Regions from separate parts of the Homo sapiens genome. Here all the other regions are linked to region 1. The links are contacts of gene promoters, found by promoter capture Hi-C in blood cells and fetal thymus (Javierre and others, 2016). All regions are on one chromosome and are shown on one strand. The core of a region is centred on a gene start or on the middle of the fragment in contact, and the rest is flanking DNA. Distances in the headings are between cores, read along the strand shown.

Region 1 (2,585 bases), core at 39-2,538:
GGCCCCCGCCAGCCCGAGGCCCGGGCGGAGCGCAAGCCCAGCCAGCCGTGCCCGACGGGGGCGCCGCAGTGTGGGGGGGCAGGTGTGGCGGGCGGTCCGGAGGCACTGCGGCAGCTCGGGTGGGGCTGGGGGCGGTCTCTCTGTGCGCCCGAGGCTGTGCCCGCCGGACCCTCACGGCCCCGCCCAGGGTCCCCGGCGTACCGCTATTCGGCCTCCGCAGAGCGCGCCACTGGTGCGAGCACCGGGCGAGGAGCTGACCCTACCCGCTGACGTCTCCCTCACCGACCCCCTTCAAGCTACCACTCCCGAGGCTGGGACTTCTAAAAGCAGCAGCCCCACCCCGCAACTTGGGGTCCCATTGTCCTTTCTGAGAGCTGCAGCCAAGGCCCCAAGGGCGGTAGCGAGGCGGGCTCTGTCTGGTGGCGAAGCGCAGGCGGTTCTGCATCCCAGCATCTCCCCGGGGAGGGGGGGGCGGGGGGAGCGGGCGTGGCCCTAGGACTAGCCTAGTCATTCTGAGGAAAGAAAGGATCGGGAGGTTTGAAATCAGAAAAGGCGTTTCTCAGGGGCTGAGGTAGCCGTGGTGAGGATGAATCCCACGCGGGCCCTGGCACATGGGCTTCGGCCCCAGGTCTGCGGTGGTGGGGGTCCCAGCCTTTTCCTGAGGCCAGAAGAGGACTGAAAGGAGTGGTTGCATCAGGTCTCCCCCACCCTTCTGCCTCCTGCGGTTGCGGCTTTATTGTGGCCTCTGCTCCCCTGACACCTGCATTTCACTTAGCGGGAGAGGCGGTGGCCAACTCAGCACAGGCTGCGGACTCAGCGTGGTGACAGATCCCTCAAGGTTATTGGAGACTCTCCCTCTGGGTCTCATATCTAATAATTCGGATTATTCTTAATTAGCCCAGAAAGGGTCTGGACCAAGTATGAGAGGTGACGAGGAGAGGCATGGGTGCGGGGCGCGCGGGAGGAGCGCAGTGACCGTCGCGCCCTGGGTGGGGTCGTGTTTGCGCGTCTCCCAGCGCGCGTCTCTGGGGGCGCGGGGCCACTTACCGAGCTCGATGTTGCCGATGGCACGCCGCAGGTGCTCCTCGGTCACGATCTCGCCGACGACCACCAGCAAGTAGAACTTGCTGTCAAGGAAGCGGTGCGACAGGCTAGGCGAGGTGGACGCCGCCGGGTTGGCGATGCTGCCGGACGGCTCCGGCTCGGTGGCTTCCACCACCACGGTCGCCATCCTGCCGGCTGCTGTGCCTCGGCGAAGTGTCTCGCTCCGGCCGCTCCTCTCCACTGCGGCAGGAGAAAGGATTATCTCCGAAGGTACTGTCTCCGCTCCGCCCCCTGCGTCCCCCCTCCTCTGGCGCCGCGCGCCGCCTCCCCCTCCGCCCTCTCCCAGCGCCGCGGAGAGTGCGCGGCGGAGAGGAGCGGGGAGTGAGAGAGGGCGGGGAGGCGGCGCCGCTTTTATATGGAGACTAGGCAGGGAGCCGGGAGGAGGAGGAAGAGGAGGAGGAAAGGACCACCCGGCACATCCTCACGCGGTGGCTGCCTCCGCTCTTCCAGCCGTTGGCCCGGGGCTGATGTCATCTGCAGCAAATCATCTCGCCCGCGGCCCGGAAGCTGGAGGGACGAGGTGTGCGGACAATGGTCGGGGCAGGGCCGCGAGCCAAGGGGCTGGGGCGCCCGCTGAGCTCCTGCTGCAGCCGTGAAGGGGGAAGACGCTCTCAACCTACACCACCCACCACGTACACACCCACTGCCCACTCCTCACCCTCACCCTGTCTGTGCATGGGAATGGGATGAGTTTCCATTTTCGGAGTGGGGGTCTTTTCTCTTGTTGGAGTTGCACTAGTCAGGCCTCTGCCTTGTGTGCTGTGTATGATGTAGCCAGGTTCTCAGGAACTGGGATAGCCACAGTGGGCAGATGCGGGGCTGTGGGTACCCCGCCTAGGAAGACGGAACCTGTCTTTTCTTTGACCTTGTGGCTTTAAGAAGACGAATTTACTGATATTTACCAATATCAATATTTACCACCTTCACTTAAAGAATACATCAAAAATGCAAAACTTAAGCCTACTATTGTTCAGGCCTTGGATTCTACTCTGGCAGGGCCAAGGATGAAAAAGTACTGGCTTTGTGGTGCTCATGGGAAATGAGAGAAATGCAGATGTATTATATTAGATACCAATTTCTTTCCTTAATGTGCTGAACAGATAGTATCAGTAATAACAAAGAATAAAGAGAAGATACTGTCTCTACTCAGCAGGGTTACAGTGACTATAATGTACTTTTCAGTTCCTTGGGGAACACACAAGCAAAATTACCTCGTGACAATGATGTCTTTTAAAATACCTGTAGCATTGGGAATTTTTATTGCCTTTGTTTGTGTTTAGAAGAACTAAAAAATGTGTTTTTTGTTTTTGTTTTTTTGTTTTTTTTTTTAAGGCAGCCTATTTACAACCGTTTCTCACAAACATACTGAATATAGCTTCTGTCCCAGAAAAGGGGAGGAGGGTGAGGAAAGAGCAAAATGTGCAAACATGGTATCATAGAAGACTGGGGAATTCGAGCTTTAAGGAAGAGGAATAGATGGA
Region 2 (2,585 bases), core at 39-2,538, 340 kb after region 1:
AGTAATTGTGAGTCTTGAAGAGCCAAACAGAAAGGCCACAGAAAATTAGCCTGATGTGATAATTTAGAGATCTGATTTTGCTATTCTCTTACTTTATGTTATTCAATGCCACCAGAAGCAGCCATCCTACCCTGTTGTTCCAGAATGTTTAAATTATTTTTTGCCATCAGCTACTCAGTTTTTCAGAGCACCACCTTCTGGCGCACATAGAGGGAACGTAACAGTTGTTTTACACTGTTGGGATACTAACCCGCAATATGAAAGCGAATTTTCCCCCTTTTCCCCATTCTGGCCAGTTTCCCCGCTCCTCAAAAATCTACCTTTCTCTTAGGGTATCTTGCCAACTGGAGCAAAAGTGGAAGTTATAAGCAGAATATAGGGGAACTTAGAACCTAGAAAAGGTAACCCAACAGGTTTGAAAAAGAAACAAGGGCCAATCCTAGAATTTGTAAGAAGTGATAAAAGACATTATGGCATTGCAACTAGGATGAATGAGCAGATACAACTATATTCTGTCATTTTATTGCTCTGCTAAAGTTTCAGTTCCAGAGAGACACTCCTGTCAGTCTCAGGTTGCATTCCCATTTCTTGGCAGGAAAGGACAAAATATCTTGACTTATGGTTCCATTGTAATGACTCAAGTAGAGAGGAGTCAGTTTCCCAAAATAGCATCAGAGTGCTTTTAGGAGAAAAAACTACTCAATAATTCCTGCAATTGACAGATAAATTATCTTTTCTAAATAGATTTATAGGACTTTTTAAAAATCTGTATAATTCAAAATTTTTCTTTGAATATATGTAGATGTGGATCTCTTCTGTTTTCATCTGAAATGCAGTGAACCCCTGCAGCCTGCAAACTTAGGTTTTATTTCATCTTTTATGATTGCTTCTATTCCATGTGTTATGCTGTCTTCCCTAGAAACACAAAGTAATCAAATGTTAGAGGTTTCATTTTCTCTCTTTCCTTCTGCTTGTGCATTTTTTTCTGCATCCTAGAAAAGCTTCTCAAATTTGTTCAGTACATAACTGATTCTGATTTACAGTTAGGTACTGATCATGTTATTGTGCTCTTGGTTTACTTGAAAGCCTTCCATATCTCAACATGCTGTCTTCTTTCAGCCTGTTGTCTCATCATGGTGTTATGTTCCTGTTTCACAACACAATGCCTCATTGAATTCTATTATTGCAGATTCTAAACAATCTCCTGTAATTTTCTTCTTGTTCCTATAGGCTCTTCAGAGATAGAATCTTTCTATGAGGTTCCAGAGTACTGTCCTTTATCCATTGTTCTGCAGTATTTTTTTACTGGGCTCATGTGTTGCTGATGTTTACTCGTTCTCAAATGAGGCAAAATCTATCCATACTCCTTGAAAGCTAACAGGCAGGTGGTATTTGCAATTGACCCCATTCTCTCTCTACTTCAGTATGAATCAAAGAATCCACTCAGGTCTTTAAGGGATAGACCAATGTGTCCTGTTCACAGTTTATTTCCCAGATAGTCATCTTGAGAAATGACCTATTGGTGAAGTAGCATCTTTCCCTACCTCCATGGTCCAGTTCTTCATGATAAGCTTCACTGTGACTTAAAATCACACCGCTCGGCAGTATCTCCCGGTACCTGGACCTTGTGTTTTAGAAAGCCCCACTCTGACATTTTTTTGGATTATGTCTGTCTCTACCGCAAGAGGAATCTGCAAGACCAAGGGCATGTGCCCACCCAGAGCCCTTCTAGACCACTTCCTAGATGCTCAAGAGCCTTGAATTCTCTGCCCAAACAACCCCAAGCCTGCTTGCAGGACCTGTACAGGCCTTGTCCATAGGTGCATCCTCCCAGGGGTAAACCACACCACTGGTATTTACACTCCCAAGCCCAAAGAATGTCCAGGGCAGCTATTTGCAGAGGCTCTGGACATTCCAGGTGGGGCATCCACACACATGTACTCAAAGATGCTTGCAATGAAGGAGACAGTGATGGAAAGGGAAGGGGGCTCAGGTGGGGGCCAATGAGCTTGGGCCCAGCCTTCTCCTAGCCACCACATTTCAGCATGAAACTCCAAGGAGTTTGAAAATTCAAAATTTGAGCCTGGCCTTCCAGACTATTTTGAAAGCGTATTTGTCAAAGTAAGTGTTAGAACTTATTTTATCTAACCTTGAACGCTCGGCCCCAGGTCCTGTAAATATTAGGGGTGACCTAAGGAGCAACTTCTAAGGCTCATCCTGCCTCCTCCCACTCACAAAGAAGCAGCTACTTAGTTCCAGAAGCTCTTCGTAAGTATGTGTGTCAGTAAGTAAAACATAATCAAGAAGGGTCCAAGCTTGCAGTCCCTGGATGGATTGCCATCACACTCATGTGTGAGCAGGGCTCCCGAAGCTTTAAAACTGGCTGTGCTGTTCTCTTTGCTTTACCTACACTCTATCAGGCATCTTCTAAAATTAAACTGTTGCATCCACATTGAAAATCTCCTCAGGCAGGTGTCATCCACACCACCTCCTTCTCACCGCCTCAATGATCTCCAACAGTATTCTACAGAATTTTTAGCAACCACGGTGTAAACCACCTTCGTGTTCCAACCAGAACTCCTGGG
Region 3 (2,585 bases), core at 61-2,560, 320 kb after region 1:
AATTCTATGTTGGGAGTCCATTGACTCTCTCAGGATATCGCTGTAATTATTTCCCTTGGATCAATAGAGAAGCTTTGATGTTGTCTTTACAGCCAAGAGAAGGCTTCTTTCCATTTATCTCCCACCTTGTTGAAAATGCACAGAGCCCTTCTCTAAAACTCACCCTCCCTTAATATAAAAATGAGCATTTCATTGTGTTTTCAATGTTGTTGCTATTTTTTAGGCACTGTCATCTTTCAGAGCCACCTCCACCTGGGGACTGGGAGCCAGTTTCACTCTGCGACATGAAGTCCCGTCTTGGGCCTGGGCCTTCTGTCCGTTCCCCTCCGGCTCCCATCATGGTTCCTCTCTGCACTGCAGGCCTGGGGCCACTATTCATTCTAAACTTCTTCTAGATGCTTGTGTTATCAAGGATGTCATTTTTATTACCCTCTCTACACTCGCATGTCTGCCTTGCATAAAGTTAGCTCTCAGTGCATGTTGGTTGAATCGAACTAAGAGGAGAGAGTGAGGAATTTGAACTTCTCTCCAGCAGAGTCACCTAGAGCCAGTCGAGGTTCATTTCAGAACCTGTACCCTAACTGGGACAGGAAAGACTGTAGCTGGAGGAAGAAGAGAGGCTATGGTTTTCTAGAGCATCATTCTGTATGTTAAGTCCAAACAATACTAACGTTTTTTTAAAAAACTCCCATTATATATAATAAATTCTTAGCATACTTTGGGGGTGGGGCTGGGAGGGATGATTTACTAACCATTTTTTGCTCATGCTTAATAAATATTTCCTGAAAGTATACAAGTCAAGAATCCAATTCAAGAAATGAGAAAAAAGAGCATCTTCCTCAAAAAAAAGAAAAAAAATTTTTTTAAATCAATGAAATTCATTTTGTACTGTTTACAATTTTATTGCTGCATCCTAGGCACTGACACATAATAAATGCTCAATAAATATTTATTGAACAAAAATAAATCAATAAACAAATATTTCTTGAATAGATATTTACATAGAAATGAGGCACCAGAGCAAGTGCAAATATCCCCTCAGACTCCCTGTCTTCCTCAATCCAAATCCAACCACCTCCAAGAAACAGGGCTTTCCCCAACACTGGCATTTTCATTTTTCTGAATTTCTAAAGCCATAGGTTTCTGCTTAATTATACCTTTATTTACTTAAAAAATATTTATAGAGCACTATGTGCCAGTCACCATTCCAAGCACTCATATATATCTCATTTAATCCTTAAACAATTCCATGAGTGGGTATTAATATTACTAATATTATTATCTTCAACTTACTGATGAGAAAATTGAGGCATGAAAGAGCTAAATAACTTGGCCAAGATCACACAGCCAGTGAGTACTGGAGTCAGGATTTATCTATTTTTATTTTATTTTATTTTAGAGACAAGATCTTACTCTGTTACCTAGGCTTGAGTACAGTGGTACAATCACAACTCACAGCAACCTCGACCTCCTGGGCTCAATCAATCCTCCCACCTCAGCCTCCCAGGTAGCTAGGACTACAGGGTCACACCACCATACCAGGATAATTTTTTTTATTTTTTTGTAGAGACAGGGTCTCACTTTGTTGCCCAGGTTGTTCTCAAACTCCTGGGCTTAAACCGTCTTTCTGCCTCAGCCTCCCAAGGTGGGTAAGCCCCAGAATCTGTTTTTGTGACCACTATTCTGGGCCACTACCACCCTTGCCATGATTGATCTTCAGTTGTTTCATGCCAACCTGGGCTCTCTCGTTGTCCTGTGAGCCTCCTGACAGGTGGGACCACAACTCCTGCTGCTTTTATCACATTCCCCCATCATATTTATTCAATAAATGTTTATTAAGCACCTCCTTTGTTTCTGGCATGTTCTAGGTTCCAGGAATACAGCAATGAACCAGACTGTCCAATCCCCTCCTCATGGAGTTTACATTCCAATGAGAGAAAAACAGACGATACCCAGGCAAACAAGATACTTAGAGATCATTACAAGTGCGATAAAGGAATAAAACAGAGTGAGGAGTCAGGAGGCCTTGAGGCAGAGGGAGCCTCCTTACATCATGGGGTGAGAAAGGGCTGTCTGCGCTGAGCCCTGAGGAAAAAGAGCCAGCCAGTGAGGAGTTAAGGGAAGAGAGCTCAGGTGCAAAGAGCCTGAGGCAGAAATGGGCTTGGCAAGTTCTGGAAGGAGAAAGATGCCTGGAGGGTGACCAAGCAGGATAGGAGAGGGGAACAGAGCTCAGAGCTTGCAGGCCTGGGGAAGTTTGGATTCTGCACACGGTGTTGAGAGAAGCCACAGGACATGACACAGCGCTCACATGACACAGTGAACACTAAACGACTACCACATCTCTATACCTGGGTGCCTCTCTGCACACCAAGCTACCTGGAACCACTGAGCACTGCCTCCGGGGTGCCCCGTTACCCCCAAAATTGCTGTTCTAGTAGGGTGCCGGGGACAACCTTGTGGGCCTGGAGTCAGATGGTCTGAGTTTCAATCTCTACTCTTCTGATCACACGTTGAATGACTTTAGGCAAATTATTGAACCTAAGCTTCAGTTTTCTAGCCTGAAAAAAGTACATCATAAAGGACAT
Region 4 (2,585 bases), core at 28-2,527, 300 kb after region 1:
TGACCTTAGCCCAGTGAAACTGGACTTCTGGGCTCCAGAATGGTAAGAGAATAAAATTATGTTACTTAAAGCCACAAGCTTGTGATACTTTGTTATAGTAACAATAGGAAACTAACACATTCTGTCTTTCAAAAACTACCACAAATATTTTAACAAAATGACAATACGCTGATAGCCCTAATATGAAAATAGTTTTTAAAAAATCAATTAGAAAAACATTTTGATATTAGTAGAAATACAGGAGAGACTAACAGGCAATACACAAAAGAAAAAACAGCAATTGGCCAACATACAGGTAAAAAAAATTCAACTTTATTAATCATCAAACATATAAAGAACAAATATTTTTCACTTTTCAGATTGGCAAAAAAAAAGTTTGCTAATACTCTATATTGAGAAGTGTGTTGGCAAAAGGGCAGTTTTGCATACTATGGATGGGAGTATAAACTCATATAACATCTCTGAATGACAATTTTTCAAAATGGTTCCAAATTTCCAGCAGGTTCACACCTTAATTTACATACTCTACTTTTATGAATTTACCCAAAGTTGCAATTCCACAAATTGTGTAAAGAAATACGTATAGAATTATTCATTTAGCATTATTTGTAGTGGTGAAAAATCATGAACCACCTAAATGTTTGTAAATAGGAGATTCACCAAATAACTTATTGTGCATCTGTATAATAGAATACATACTGGTACCAAAAGTATTATTGACATGAAAAAATATGCAGGCACATCTCCTTTTATTGGGCTTTGCTTTATTGTGCTTTGCAGATATTGCGATTTTTACAAACTGAAGCTTTGTGGCAACAGTGGGTCGAGCAAATCTATTGGTGCCATTTATCTCATAGCATGTGCTCCCTTCATGTCACATTTTCATAATTCTCACAGAATTTCAAACTTTTTCATTACTCTTATATCTGCTATGGTTATCTGTGACCAATGATCTTTGATGTTACTATTGCAGTTGTTTTGGGATGCCAAGAACCACGTTCCTATAAGACGGCAAACCTAATTGATAAATGGGTGTGTTCTGACTGCTCCATCAACTAGCGATTCCCCTACTTCTCTCCTTCTCCTTGGGCCTCCTATTCCCAAAGACATACCAATACTGAAATTAGGCCAGTTAATAACCCTACAATAGCCTCTAAGTGTTCAAGTGAAAGGAAGAGTCATGTGTCTCTCACTTCAAATCAAAAGCTAGAAATGATTAAGTTTGTGAGGAAGGTATGTTGAAAGCCAAGATAGGCTGACAGTGAGATCTCTTGTGCCAGTTAGCCACATTGTGAATGCAAAGAAAAAAGTTCTTGAAGGAAATTAAAAGTGCCACTCCAGTGAACACACGAATGATAGGAAAGCCAAAGAGCCTGATTGCTGATGTGGAGAAAGTTTCAGTGGTCTGGATAAAAGATCAAACCAGCCACAGCATTCCCCTAAGCCAAAACCTAATCCAGAGCAAGGGGAAGAAGCTGCAGAAGAAAAACTGGAAGCTAGCAGAGGTTGGTTCATGAGGTTTAAAGAAAGAGGCCATCTTCATAATATAAAAATGCAAGGTGAAGCACCAAATGCTGATGTAGAAGCTATGGCAAGTTATCCAGAAGATCTGGCTAAGATCATTGATGAAGGTGGCTACGCTAAAAAACAGATTTTCAATGCGGATGAAACAGCCTTAGGGTGGAAGAAGGTGAGATCCAGGACTTTCACAGCTAGGGAGGAGATGTCAACGCTTGGCTTTAAAGCTTCAAAGGACAGGCTGACACTCTGGTTAGGAGCTAAAGCAGCTCGTGACTTTAAGTTGAAGCCAATGCTCATTTACTATTCTGAAAATCCCAGGACACTTAAGAATTGTGTAAAATCTACTCAGCCTGTGTTCTACACATGGAACAACAAAGCCTGATGACAGCACATCTGTTTATAGCGTGGTTTACTGAATGTTTTAAGCCCAATTTTGAAATCTACTGAGAAAAAAGATTCTTTTCAAAATAGTAATGTTCACTGACAAAGCACCTGGTCACCTAAGAGCTCTGGCAGGGATGTACAAGGAGATTAATGTTGTTTTCACACCTGCTAACAAAATATCCATTCTTCAGATCAAGGAGTAATTTTGGCTTTGAAGTCTTATTTAAGAAATACATTTTGTAAGGCTATAGCTCCCATAGATAGTGATTCCTCTGATGGATCTGGGCAAAGTAAATTGAAAACCATCTGTAAAGCATTCACCATTCTAGACGCCATTAAGAACATTTGTGATTTGTGGAGGGAGGTCACAAATCAACGTTAATAAGCCATTACAATGGTCTGTGCCTGTAATCCTAGCTACTCAGGAGGCTGAGGTAGGAGGATTGCCCACAAGACTGTTGTGGGCTATAATTATGCCTATGAATAGCCACTACACTCCAGCCTGGGCAACATAGTGAGATCCTGTCTCTAGAAAAAAAAATTAACAGGAGTTTGGAAGAAGCTGATTCCTACCCTCATGGATGACCGTGAGAGGTTCAAGACTTCAGTGGAGGAAGTGACTGCAGATGTGGTGGAATAGCAAGATGACAAGCATTAAAAGTGGATCCCGAAGATGTGAC
Region 5 (2,585 bases), core at 40-2,539, 260 kb after region 1:
GAACCCCTCTACCATACCCCAGTGCAATATTTATGTTTGCAAAAAGAATTCCTTCGGTTAACCTCTCCAAAGGAATGCCCAAGTCACTGAAAGGAAAATTCTGGCGTCTCTGTCTAATTAAATTTAATTTTAAATGAAGCAGATATTTTCTTTGGAAGAAGTTAAAACATTTGAACTACCCTTAAAGAAGAATTTTTACTTTTTACCTTAAAAAAAGATTTTAAGGACTTTGGGTCTTTGGTCAGCACTTTGGCAATGTAAACTAACCTCCATTTTGAGTTTCTTAAAATTAATAAATTGTACCAGGATCAGCAAGTGTCTTTGTTTTGTGCCCTCTTGGTACCTCAAATTAGTTGATGAGGCAGCCATAAACCCCAACACAGGCACATAGGTTCAATCCTTAGGATGGAAAATTGCTATTTTCTGAGTCAAATTGAATAATGATCATTTGCAGTGTGGCTAGCCATGTGCCAAACACTATCCAAGCTCTATGATTACACACTGACAGCTGAAAGAGAAGACTCCAGCCCTTGCGATCATAACTAAGGAGGGAGGATAAGCACTTGAACATCCAAGCATGATATAATGCGGTGCCACACCCTCTCCATAAGCTGAGTGCTGTAGACCACTCGACTTGAAGGATACTTGCAATCTGCTGGTATGCAATGGTGAGAAGGGGAAAAAAGTTTGTAGTCATCATTTTAAGTGTGACTGCTTCTTATACTCCTTGGAGGAATAATAGCATGTTTATTTATTGAGCTTATTTATCTAGCCTCTGGTCATCTCCATGTCAGTGAGTGTGTGTCAAAGATCAGAGATACAGAGCACTGAGGAAAAAGAAGGAAAGGAAAGAAAAACAAGAATCCTGCTAAGTCAATTTAGTGAGAATCCCAAAACCTCTATATGTCATCACCCTGGCCCACCTTCAACATGAACCTTAAGGCAATTTAGCAAGAATCTCCTCATCCTTAGTCATTTTCCATCTATCGACCCCGTCTCTGCTCATTGGCTGTAAATCCTCATCTATCCTTGCAGTATTCAGAGTTGAGCCTGATCAGTCTTCCCTGTTGCAATAGTCTTGACACCTATTGCAGTGGACCTGAGTAAAGTCTTCCTCACCCTTTTAACAAGTGTCAGAATATTTTTTCGTTATACTCTTTCAAAATCATCAACTCCTGGTTATTCTTTTACTTTTACCAAGATTTAGAGTGGTGATTTTTCAAGCATGTAATACAAAACACATCTTGATTAATTATGAAATGAGAGGTAAATAATTTTAATCAAGTAATTCCTAAAGTATTGAACTTTGTGAATGATTTACCTTAAAAATTGAATTAGAGTGGATTCAAAGTTATCCCTGTAATTGCACCCCCTTGGATTGTAACATCCTCTCTTGAGTGAGAGAAAAAGAGACAGTTATAACTGATGCTTAGGAAAATGTTACATATCCTTTAGTCAATCTTAGGTCTATCATAGCCCAGAAAGCACTCCAGTATCAAAGTACTGTTAATCAAATGATTATAAACTTCTTTCCATGAAACATATACACACATATGCACACATAAAAACTATACGTTAGAACTATGCAGTAGAAGCAAACATTGCTAGTGATCACTAATATCTGGTTCTCCTCTTCCTGGTCCCCAGCACATAGGAAGAAAACATTATTCGGCCTCCTTGTAATTAAGTGGGTCACATGACTAGGTCTTACCAATGAAATGAGGGTGGACGAGATATATGTCACTTCCCACCTGGGGAAATGAAGTCAGATTCTCCTGTGTCTCTCCTCTCTTATGGACAGCCAAGGAGGCCCTGTGTTACCAGTGATGCAAGTACAAGTTAGTAAAGCCTCTGTTAGCCTGATCCCCCAAGCGACTGTATAGGGCAGAAATCCCCATGACCCTTATTACATGTGTACTGTGAGTGAGAAATAAACACTTGCTGCATTAATTACTGGTATTTCAGACTTAATATGTTATCACAATATAACCTGGCATTAAACTGACTAATTTTTCCTAAAGCATTGGCAGCAAGTAGGATGAGGTTGTACAAATCAAGCTAAGCCCATGATGGAATACCATGTATATGTCACCTATTGTACTGGGCAGGCCAAGCCTCAGAATGGTTTTCATGTTAAAATTCTTTTAAACATGTTTCCTTCTGTGCATATATCCCTATCCTGCTAACCCAAGAGCCTGGTGACCCTGGACCCAGCTAATTGGATCAAGGACAGGCACTTGCCCTAAAGATAGCCAACATACAGAGCCTGCCCATCGGTTTCTCTTTCTCAGGAATTCAGACTGGAAATATGGGTGGAGACAACATGTAGAGAGACAAAATGATACCTGGAGAAGCAAAGGAAGAGAAAAGACCTGAGCTTCGTTAGTTATGGGGCTCTAGAGTGGGGACCACAAACATCTTCTCCTGAGGGGCTAACAAGATTACCAGCTGCTTGGATTGCCTTTTGTATTAGTTTGGCAGGGTTCCCATAACAAAGTAGCACAAACTGGGTGGCTTAAACAACACAAGTGTATTGTCTCATACTTTTGTAGGCTGGAAGTCCAAGATCAAGGTGTCAGCAGGGT

The links. The method cuts DNA at HindIII sites, captures the fragments that hold promoters and counts their contacts. A CHiCAGO score of 5 or more calls a contact.
Region 2: a contact is called between a fragment that was not itself captured here and the fragment with the promoter of MAP1B in region 1, in 1 of 17 cell types (endothelial precursors). The highest score is 6.6, in endothelial precursors.
Region 3: a fragment that was not itself captured here is called in contact with the fragment with the promoter of MAP1B in region 1 in 1 of 17 cell types (endothelial precursors); the score reaches 14.5 in endothelial precursors.
Region 4: a contact is called between a fragment that was not itself captured here and the fragment with the promoter of MAP1B in region 1, in 1 of 17 cell types (endothelial precursors). The highest score is 5.4, in endothelial precursors.
Region 5: a fragment that was not itself captured here is called in contact with the fragment with the promoter of MAP1B in region 1 in 1 of 17 cell types (endothelial precursors); the score reaches 5.5 in endothelial precursors.

The regions. Positions count from the first base shown.
Region 1 is chr5:72,106,178-72,108,762 of GRCh38, reverse strand. It overlaps MAP1B (microtubule associated protein 1B), which reads right to left and starts at 1,288. Exons shown (of 7, transcript NM_005909.5): 1 at 1,048-1,288. The coding sequence starts at 1,231. LOC105379028 (a long non-coding RNA gene) reads left to right here. Exons shown (of 3, transcript XR_007058813.1): 2 at 776-838. RefSeq lists an enhancer at 387-1,369. The HindIII fragment of the contact is 9,795 bases long and covers 1-2,585 here.
Region 2 is chr5:71,765,883-71,768,467 of GRCh38, reverse strand. No RefSeq gene overlaps it. Among named protein-coding and RNA genes, the nearest start is that of CARTPT, 48 kb to the right of the region's middle. The HindIII fragment of the contact is 570 bases long and covers 1,004-1,573 here.
Region 3 is chr5:71,783,720-71,786,304 of GRCh38, reverse strand. No RefSeq gene overlaps it. Among named protein-coding and RNA genes, the nearest start is that of CARTPT, 66 kb to the right of the region's middle. The HindIII fragment of the contact is 2,471 bases long and covers 75-2,545 here.
Region 4 is chr5:71,802,132-71,804,716 of GRCh38, reverse strand. No RefSeq gene overlaps it. Among named protein-coding and RNA genes, the nearest start is that of CARTPT, 84 kb to the right of the region's middle. The HindIII fragment of the contact is 940 bases long and covers 808-1,747 here.
Region 5 is chr5:71,841,301-71,843,885 of GRCh38, reverse strand. No RefSeq gene overlaps it. Among named protein-coding and RNA genes, the nearest start is that of CARTPT, 120 kb to the right of the region's middle. The HindIII fragment of the contact is 4,504 bases long and covers 1-2,585 here.